Regions from separate parts of the Homo sapiens genome. Here region 2 is linked to region 1. Evidence: promoter capture Hi-C in human tissues and cell types (Jung and others, 2019). All regions are on one chromosome and are shown on one strand. The core of a region is centred on a gene start or on the middle of the fragment in contact, and the rest is flanking DNA. Distances in the headings are between cores, read along the strand shown. Region 1 holds the start of FBLL1 (fibrillarin like 1). Region 2 overlaps SPDL1 (spindle apparatus coiled-coil protein 1).

Region 1 (5,460 bases), core at 1,640-4,139:
CCTTTTCAAAAGTCTGATTTGGACCAGGTGCCATAGCTCACGCCTCTAATCCCAGTGTGGGAGTCTGAGGCAGGAGGATTTCTTGAAGCAAGGAGTTCAAGACCAGCCTCGGCAACAAAGCGAGACACTGTTTCTCCACAAACATTTTTTTTTTAAATTAGCCAGGTGTGGTAGGCTGAGGCAGGAAGATCACTTAAGCCTAGGAGTTCAAGGCTGCAGTGAGCCATGATTGCGCCACTGCATTCCAGCCTTGGCGACAGAGCAAGACCTGTCTCAAATAAAATAAATAAAATAAAACAAAAATAAAAAGTCTGATTTATCCTTTGTTGTTGTTCAAGAAGTATGCCCTCAGAAAAAGCAGACTAACCACAATTGCTGCCCAAGCACATCTTTAGAAAGGCAAATCCACCCTCCAAATGATACATTAGTGAGCAATCATTCAAAGACTAAATGTTGATGTGGGTCTTTTTGGCAGTTGGGAGTGTGTATGCATGCATGCATGAATGAATGAAAAGTCTGGCTTGGAGGGATTTACTGGGCCTTTGGGGCATTCTCAGCTTTCCTCGGATTACCCACTCTCCCTTCCCTTTGGGCTGCTTTGGAGAGAGACTGCGAGGTACTGAGACCAGCAACTTGGGAAGTGCAGGACATGCCTTGCAAAGACAGATACTTTCTGGGAGTAATTTGTCTGCCTGTTCTGCAGACACTTGGTGATACCACTTTGGGTATGTTATGCCCTGTAGTAGAGACAGTCTGCTAGCTAGACCCACATCTGCCCCGCATCTTGTTTTGCTATTGTGAAACCAAACAAAGGGGTAGCCCGGGGGGGACAGGGGAGGGCGAAAGAACACAATAAGGTCACAGGGCCCTGCTCTAAGTGTGTCCCTGTGCACATGCCATAGGGGTTGGGGACCAGAGACAAGATCCCCCTGGTGCTGAGGAAACAGCAATGGATTTAGAGCCCCGAAGACTGGCATTTAAGTTCTACCTCCTTACTGGCTATGTACGTTTGGGCAAAATAGTTTACCTTCAGAAGCCCTGTTGCTTCACATGTAATATGCAAGTGCTAACAAAGCCATCTCAGGGCTGGTGTGAGGAATAAATTTAACATTTATTTATTATTCACTTTAACAGTGAATGCAAAAGGGCTTAGTTGAAGAGTAAAATACTAAAAACCTATTGTGGTTAAGACTTTGGCTGTGAGTCAGATGATTGGTGTGTTTGACTATATTATTGTCCACCAACATTCAGTGTTTTTCCCGAGTCAGGCTGGGTCATGTGACTTGGCCAAATGTGAGCAGAAGTGCCCCATCAGTTCCAAGGGGACATTTAAAAGCTTTTATTAGCAATTCCGCAGCTCTCTTTCCTCTGCCCTAGGGATGGGGGGAGCATGTGTGAAAATGGGGCCCTGGGGAGTTGGAGACCTGAGTGATTAGAATGAGCACAGCTCCCAGGCTACTGCTGGATGGGCCCCTTATACCAGCCGGTTTAGGCCACTGGGATTTGGGGGTTGATTGTTACTGCAGCAAAACCTAGCCTGGCATCACCATACAGATAGGTGCCGTTTCTTTATGCAGTTTAATAGAAAAACAACAAAACAAAACACTCACAAAGAAAACACACAGAAAATAATAGCAAACACAACGCAGCCTTGGGGAGATGGCAGGCGAGCCTGAGCTGGGTGCTATTTGCTGCTGCTCTTGGGAAGAGGTCGGTAGACCCCGACCACCACAGCGTGGTCCCGCTCATAGGGCTCCAGGGTCAGCTGCTCTTGAGGCTTCAAGTTCTCCTGCTGCAACTTCCTCACCTCAGAAGCAAACACAGCCTCGGCGGATGCGGTGGAGTCGATGCAGTTGGCCTTGATGGAGATGAGAAAGTGGCCCCCATTGCGCAGGAAGGTGTGGGCGTTCAGGGCCACGATGCGGGACTGGTCCGGCTGGGCCACGTCGGCGAAGATCACGTCCACCATCCCGATGAGCATGCGGTACTTGAGCGGGTGCCGCGCGTCCTCCAGGACCGGAATGATGTTGGTGCGCTTCTTGGCCACGTTGACCAGATCGCGGCCGGCGCGGTGGGAGAACTCGACGGCGTAGACCAGGCCGTCTGGGCCAATGATGTCGGAGACATGGGAGACGGTGGTGCCCGACGCGGCGCCCAGGTACAGCACCTTGGACTTGGGCTTGATGTGGATCTGGTCCACCCCGCCCAGGATGGCCGCGGCCAGCTTAGAGCGGAACGGGTTCCACGTGCGGTACTCCTGCTTCACGCCGCCCTCGGTCACCGTGACGCGCCTCTCGCCGTACACAGACTGGCCCGGCACCATGTTCAGCGTGACCAGCGCGTCCTCCGCCCCGCGGTAGATGAAGACGCCCTCGTGCCGGTGCGGCTCCACCGACACCACCATGGCGCCCTTCCTGCGGCGGCTCTTGCTCTTGGCCACGCCGCCCCGCCGCTGTCCACCGCCGCCGCGATCCTTGCCGTCGCCGCCGCCGCGCCCCCGGCCCCGGCCGCCCCCGCCGAAGCCGCGCGCCCGCGCCCCGAAGCCGCCCTTGCCCCCCTGGCCGCCGCCGTCGCCCCCGCCGCCCTTGCCCGCGCCGCCGCCGCCGCCTCGGCCCCCGCCCCAGCTGCCCCAGCCGCCGCCCCCGCGGCCGCCCCCACCGCCCCCGCGCGAGCTCGCGGCCGACTTCATGGCACGCACCGGGGCGGGTGCCGTGGGTTACCGGTGCCTCGGGGCGGGTGTCAGGGGGCTCTGGTGGCTCTGGGTGGTCGTCCCGGCGGTTGTCCGCGGGTTTAGCAGCGGAGGCGGGCGGCGGGCGGCGGGCGGCGGGGGCAGGACGGGCTCTACCGCAGTGCCCGCATCCCGGAGCCGCCCCTTGACGCAGCGGCTGTGGCGCGATTGCATCACACCCGTCCCCGCGACCCTGCGGCCCGGAAGCCCCGCTTCCCAGCCCGCGTGCAGACGCAGCCTGCTCCTCTTCGCTCACCCTGCCCCTTCCCCATCTCCCGCCTTCCCAGGGATCCCTGGCACTTCCCTGGGCCACAGGGACGGGGGCGTCTCTGCTGCAGGAGAGGGGGAGGTAAGCATCAGCGTCGGTCCTGGCTGTGCCACCAGTTCTGGGACTATTGATCAGCAAGGAAGTGTTGTTGATTCTTCAGTGTGAATGGGGATACACAGAGAGCCAAAATGTCATGTTCATCCTCGAAGTCTAGTCTATGCTTCAAAGTCACTCTCTAAATCTGCAGCATTTTCTTGAGGAAAGAAAGAAAAAGAGAAAAAGAAAGAAAGAGAGAGAAAGAAAAGAGAGAGAGGGAGAGGAGAAGAAAAGAAAAGAATAATTGGGCAGCACCAAGGGCAGCAACGAGAAGAAAAGAAAAAAAGAAAAGAACAGAAAGAAAATAAAAGAATAACTCGGCACCACCAATGGCCCCAAGGCCGCAACGCAGAGGCTTTAGGGTTTAGTCAGCACCAGGGACAGCGACAGCAGTTGGGGCCCCCGTTTTGGCTACTGCTAGGGGCTTTGGGAACCACACAAGAGCTGGGGAAAGTAGGATAGGTGGTGAAACAACTGGCCAGCCTCCCGTTAGTTGAATTAAGTGTCTACTCGAGAGAGAGAGAGAGAGAGACAACGCGCACCTGAAGATCGGAGCATTTACTGAACACCTGGTATGTGCAGTATGACTTCCGTTCCATCCTGGACCACAGCTCTTCCCGTCTCATACTCATGGACGACAGTGCCAGGTCTGATTTTCCCTGAGGACTGGAGTGTCTCCTTAATGGGGACCAGAGTTTTATACACTGGAATGTGAACAAGGGATCAGTGAGTGAAATGTATGATTCCTGAGGTTGAATGGTTCACATAAAATACTCTACTTAGAGGTTTCCATTCTTGCTATAAGGTGAATATTTTCCAAAATGATGAACTACACTTGGTGTCTGTGAGGGTTAATTTTATGTGTCAACTTTACTGGGCCATGGGATGCCCAGATATTTGGTCAAATAGTATTCTGAGTGTTTCTGTGAGGGTGTTTTTTGATGAGATTAACATTTAAATTGGTATATTGAGTAAAGCTGATTGCCGTCTACGATGTGGCTGGGCCTCATCTAATCAGTTGAAGGCAGAAATAAAGCAAAATGCTGACCTTCCCCACGGAAGAGAGAATTCTCCTGCCCAAGGGCCTTTCAACTGGCACATCAGCTCTTTCTGCCTGACAACCTTTGGACTGGGACATTGGCCCTGCGGATTTTGGACCTGCTGGTCTCCACAATCACATGAGCCAATATATATCCTATATATACACACATATATATATCCTACAGGCCTGTGTCTTTGGAGAACCTTGAATAATAGAGATCCTGAGACAAAGCCTTGAGTCCAATTGGTTTGTGAGGTGATCCCAGGAAGCACATGTTGGGGAGGCAAAAATGAGATAGAGAAGATAGAAAGGTTAAGAAAGAACTGGGCACAGTGCCTCACACCTGTAATCCCAGCACTTTGGGAGGCCAAGGTGGGAGGATTGATTGAGCCCACGAGTTCAAGACCAGTCCTAGCATGATAGCAAGACCCTGTCTCTACAAAAATAAACAAGACTTAGCCAGGTGTCATGGTGTGTACCTGTAGTCACTGTAGTACCTGTAGTCACTGTAGTACCTGTAGTACCTCAGCTACTGAGGAGGCTGAGCTGGAGGGGTCGCTTGAGCCTGGGAGATCAAGGCTGCAGTGAGCTGAACTCACACCACTACACTCCAGCTTAGGTGACAGAGGGAGACCCTGTCTCAAAAAAAAAAAAAAAAAAAAAAAGAGGGTAGATTAATGAGTAGATGACCACAGTGGACAATGGGAGCTCAATTGCTGTGAGTATTCTGAGAAACTGTGTGGAAGGCATCTCAGAATTGTTCTACTGCAGGTTGGAGGCTGGGGCATTAATCCACTGTCTTAATTTGTTTCTATACCTGAGACTGGGTAATTTATAAAGAAAAGGGCTTTATTTTTTCTTTTTTTATTCTAAGATAGGGTATCACTCTGTCACCCAAGCTGAGTGCAGTGGCACAATCATGGCTATTGCAGCCTTGATCTCCCAGGCTCAAGCAATCCTCCCACCTCAGCCTCCTGAGTAGTTGGGACTACAGGTGTGTGCCACCACACCAGGCTAAAATTTTATTCTTTATAGAGATGGAGCCTCACTATGTTGCCCAGGCTTGTCTCAAACTCCTGGACTCAAGCAGTTCTCCTGTTTCAGTCTCCTAAAGTGCTGGGATTACAGGTGTGAGCCACAGTGGCCAGCCAGGTTTCTTTCTATATAGGTATAAACCATCATGCCTGGCAATTTTTTTTTTTTTTTTTTTTACTTTTTGTAGAGATGAGACCTCATTATGTTGCCCAAGCTGGTCTCCAACTCCTGGCCTCAAGCCATCCTCCTGCCTCAGCCTCCTGAGTTGCTGGAATTCTAGGCACAAGCCTC
Region 2 (4,962 bases), core at 314-2,813, 1.1 Mb before region 1:
AAATTACCTTCATACTCTCCATTTCTGTCAGCTCAATTTGAAGAGCCAGCATCTCTGAAGACATGCTTTCCTGCACACGTTCAGACATTACGCGCAGTTCCTCTGATTTACAAGAGAGGAGTTCCTTCTGATGATCTACTTGGTGCTTCAGCTGCTTTTCACTAAGCCTGGCTTCATCTAATTCCACTTTCAGTTTTTCTATCTAAAGCCAAAAAAAAAAAAGTCATAAATTGAAAGTTATTTTCTTTCTAAAAACAATCACTGATTGAACTGATTGAACCAAACTTACTGAATGATGATACTATTGGAGTTTCCTATTTGCCCAAGGTTAGGCATCTTTTAACAGCTAGTGACACACCTTGTTTAATAAACATAGAAATAATCCATGAGTAATCGGGGTGGGTCTGGATGCCTCAGAAGCAATCTGGAGGCACTATGATGCGGACCACTTGGCTACTGTGTGAAGAATGACTGGCATGAAGAGAAACAATGGAAGCAAGCAACCTGGTCAGAAGGCTACAGCAGTAGTCCAGGAAAGAGATGATGAAGGTCTGGATTGGAGTGGCAGTAGCGTCATAGATGTTTTGTAGGTCAAGTTCTTAGAACTTGATGAATTAAATGTGAAAAATAAGAGAAGAAAAGGTATTAAAAAAATCCAAATTTTGGCATAAGTGATTTGAGAAAATCAGTAAAACAAAATATTTCACTAATGTACTCTTTGCTCCACCAAAAAAAAAAAAAAAAAAAAAAGCCATCTCTATAATTAGCCTTACCTCAGTCCTGAATACTCCCTTTATTACTCTTTTTTGTTTAGGTGATGAAAACTATTGCAAAAATAAAAATAACAACCAGAGGGGGAAGAAAGCACATCATTATCAGTCATTAGGGCCTCAAATCCGACTAGTTTCAGACAAGCTGGATGATATTATCTGTCAGAGTGGTATGCAAGATGATTATATATTACATGAAGGTATATTTAGATAGCTATGTTTGTTTTAGTGTATACTGGGAAAAAATAAGCAAGCTTAAATATGTAATTTTGGCCAGGCGCAGTGGCTCAGGCCTGTAATCCCAGCACTTTGCGAGGCTGAAGTGGGCGGATCACGAGGTCAGGAGTTAGAGACCAGCCTGACCAACATGGTGAAACCCTGTCTCTATTAAAATACAAAAATTAGCTGGGCGTGGTGGCGCACACCTGTAATCCCAGCCACTTAGGAGCCTGAGGCAGGAGAATCGTTTGAACCCGGGAGGCAGAGGTTGCAGGTGAGCCGAGATCATGCCACTGCACTCCAGCCTGGGCGACAGTGTGAGACTCTGCCTCAAAAAAAAAAAAAAAAAAAAGGAAAAAAAAATACTTTCATTGATGTTTCTTAAAATCAGTAAACATTAAAAGAGAGTCAATGAGAAATTAAGTAATAGTATAGGTGGTATACAGAAAAAGAAAAATCTTAGAGGCTGCTATACAAGAAGCTGAAAATTGGGTAACAGACTTCTGAGAAAGGAGGACAAAAGTCAGGCAAGTTTTGGTAGACAGTGTCTGGAAAAGTCAGAGTATAGACTATACACAAAGCAGATCCATGATAAAAAGTTCTGGATTCCTCAGAAGCAACCTGAAAGCACTGGCTAGCTGGGAAAAGGGAAAACCACTGACCAATCATTTATCTTGCGTTTATGTTTGAAATGGAGCCAGTGTAACATGCTGTTAGACTATGTAGTGATTCAGTAACACAGCCTTTGGAGTCAGACAGCCTCAGTTCAAACCTAGATGGAGAATTTCTAGTTCTTGAATTGTGTCCAATTTACTCAGTCTGTCTAAACACTGGCTCTTTCATCTGGTATATGGAAATGATAATGGTACCTTTCCACAATATTATTGTAAGAACTGGAGCACATGTATTAGTTTATCCTCAGTAAACAAACTATAAAGTGTCATTTGTAATGCACATTAACTAGTAAGAAACTACTGGTCTGTTTTACAGAATTACAAAGCATACCACTGACTGCAGGGAAGGCTAGGAGACGAGGCTTTCTGCAAGGGGCTGCTGTACCCACTATCAGCAAGGAGGCCATGCTAGTCACTAAACTAAACCTTCACAAATATCCAGCAACCAAAATTAAATAATTGTATTTAATTAATAGGATATAATTTATACAAGTCCCTTAGACAAACTCTTGTATCTCAGTGTTCCCACCCCCAATATTAAGATAATGAAGACTTAGATCTTGGCTATTTTGCAAAGCTGACACTTAAGAAAATCTTTATCATCTAAAGTTTACAGATGGCTGCATAAATATGGAATATTTTGTGCTGAAATACGCAGATATCCCAACCTTAGTTTTTAGTTCATTCACTTCCTGTCCATGGCTTCTGCTTAGTTGTTCTTCCAATTTCTCCAGGTGCATTTTTTGTTGTTGTTTAATAGCTTCACATTCGCAGCTCAAACTTTCTAACATTCGACTCTTGAGTTCAACTTCTCTTTGAAGGGTATATTTTTCTTGTTCATAACTCTGAAAACAGATTCAATTACAATTCAATTACATAAAAATAGCCTAAAGCCATTACATACAATCAGTTTTCAACTTCAATTGTTTCATTCTTATTTCAAGCATTTGCTGCTTTCCAAATAACGAAGACATGTTAAACCTGGAATAACTTTGTAGTTAATCAGTCTTAATAAACCCCTGAGGTGTATTTCGAAACTATGTTAAACCCATGCAAGGGATACCTTACTGCTTCTGTGCCTTGTCAAGGAAGTAAAATGTGCTCCATGGTATGTCAACACGTCAAGTCAAGTAATCTCTGCTAACAACAAAAAAAGATTTAACAGCACTTAAGCTTTCCTCATGAGAATTATTAGTTTGATAATGAGATGCTCTACTTGTAGCTCTGAACACAATGTAGTAGTAATAATAGTTGAAAAAAAAGAAATACTGAATTAGCCTTTACTTTCAGAATGTAGTCATCTGAGAAATGTCACAAAAGGTCTATCAGAATGAATGCAGAGCTGAGACAAAAGGAGTAATTAAAAGGGCTTTTGCTTACTCACAGGGAAGTTTAGACATTAAAAATGTTACAAGTACGAACTCCTTCAAGAGGCTTTAAAAAATGATAAAATATTCCCCTCAAAAACCATTTTATTTTAAAGGAAGACAAAGAGTATTAACTGTTAAACACTGAAATTTGACAAGTTATGACTCAAAATGATTAAGTATAACAGTTTTATTTTCTATTAGTGATATTTGTAATCTTTACTTTGCCTTTATGACTTTGCACTCAGTTCTTGGTTTACAACAGTACTATGTAGAAACACAAAGGTTGCCATCACTAGTTATTTTTACCTGCTACAGATATTTTTTACCTGCCATATTTACAATGTTGAGATTCAAGTTTAAATATGTTACTGAGCATTTGCTAAATTACCCAGATTTATTCATTCATTCTTTTAAGAAATAATCGTGTGGCAGGCATTCAGGATAGTGAACAAGGCATACAAAATTCCCTCTCTCATGGAGTTTATAATCTAGAGATAATTAGCAATGCAGATAATTAAGAGTGGAATCAGGGCCGGGCACAACGGCTCATGCCTGTAATCCCAGCACTTCGGCAGGCAGATTACGTGAAGCCAGGAGTTCAAGACCAGCCTGGTCAACATGGTGAAACCCCATCTCTACTAAAAACACAAAAATTAGCCGGATGTGGTGGCACACATCTGTAACCCCGAGCTACTCGGAAGGCTGAGGTAGGAGAATCTCTTGAACCCAGGAGGTGGAGGATGCAGTGAGCCAAGATTGCGCCACTGCACTCCAGCCTGGGCGACAGAGTGAGACCCTGTTTCAAAAAAAAAAAAGAAAAAAGAAAAAAAAAGTGAATCAGGGCAACTTTACATTACATAGTAAGGGCTGACCTCTCCGCTGAAGTGACATTTAAATGAAAGCTGAAATCTGAGGACTCAACCCAAGAGCAGTGAGGGGTAAACAACTCAAAAAAAAAAAAAAGGCAATAGCTGGTGTAAAGCCCATAAGGGAGGACCAGTATAGTCAAGAACAAGGCAAAGCAGTTTGAGGTGAGGTCAGAAGCTTGGCAGGGGTCAGGTCACATAGGGATCTACAAACCCAAGGATGGAGCTCAGATTTTGTTGTAAATAAAATCAGAAGCTGTTGTATGGTTTTTAGCAGGGCTGTGGCATGACCTTTGGTGTGTTATTCCACGACCACTTAGACGCTGAGTGAAGAATGAATGGCATGAATGGCAACAATGGAAGCAGGCAACCCGGCCAGAAGGCTACAATACTTGTCTAGGAGTGATGATGGTGATCTGGACTACAGTGCCAGTAGCAAAGATACATGCTTTGTAGTCTAGTTCTTAGAACTTATTAATGAGTGAAATGTGAGAAATAAAGGGAAGATATTGACTAAAAGTTCTAGATTTTTGGTATATAAAGAAACCAAAAATATACCAAAAATCTTTGGTATATAAAGATTTTTGGTGTTCAAGAAACTGAATGCTATTATATTTACTAAATAAGCTAAAAAAAATCGTAAAAGAATATTTGGTTAACGGACAGGGAATCCACTCTTCTGTCTGTGTTAAGTTTGAGAAGTCTATTAGTGGGCAGTTGAACACAAACCTAGATTTCATGGGGGAACTAAGGGCTTGGTGTAGTGTCATGGGGCACTTAGATGTTTAGAGGTCTAAAACAAGTGAGGTCTTCTAGGAAGTGTGCAGACAAAGCAAAATCTGGTAGTAAATGTGGCAAAGAGAGTAATGATAACTTGATCTTTCAAACTCTGAATACACTAGGGTGGAAAGAATAACAGGAATTCATTTAGTTCATTCTTTTTTAACAGGGACGGGGCAGGGCGGGAACTAGATCTAAAATCTTCAGAAAAGAATAAACTACTACTACTATTAATTGCTAAACAGGACAAATCTTCAATAGCTAAGCACACTCTTGCAGACAG

The links. Contacts are between HindIII fragments. The study calls those that stand out against the background at their distance.
Region 2: a fragment that was not itself captured here is called in contact with the fragment with the promoter of FBLL1 in region 1 in 1 of the 25 tissues and cell types used here (spleen).

What each region holds. Positions count from the first base shown.
Region 1 is chr5:168,526,734-168,532,193 of GRCh38, reverse strand. FBLL1 (fibrillarin like 1) reads right to left here and starts at 2,889. Exons shown (of 1, transcript NM_001355274.2): 1 at 1,560-2,889. The coding sequence starts at 2,689. The coding sequence ends at 1,685. RefSeq lists enhancers at 1,016-1,185, 2,041-2,582 and a silencer at 3,436-3,730. The HindIII fragment of the contact is 8,115 bases long and covers 336-5,460 here.
Region 2 is chr5:169,588,594-169,593,555 of GRCh38, reverse strand. It overlaps SPDL1 (spindle apparatus coiled-coil protein 1), which reads right to left. Exons shown (of 12, transcript NM_017785.5): 3 at 2,332-2,508; 4 at 8-202. Among named protein-coding and RNA genes, the nearest start is that of SPDL1, 7.3 kb to the right of the region's middle. The HindIII fragment of the contact is 6,144 bases long and covers 1-4,635 here.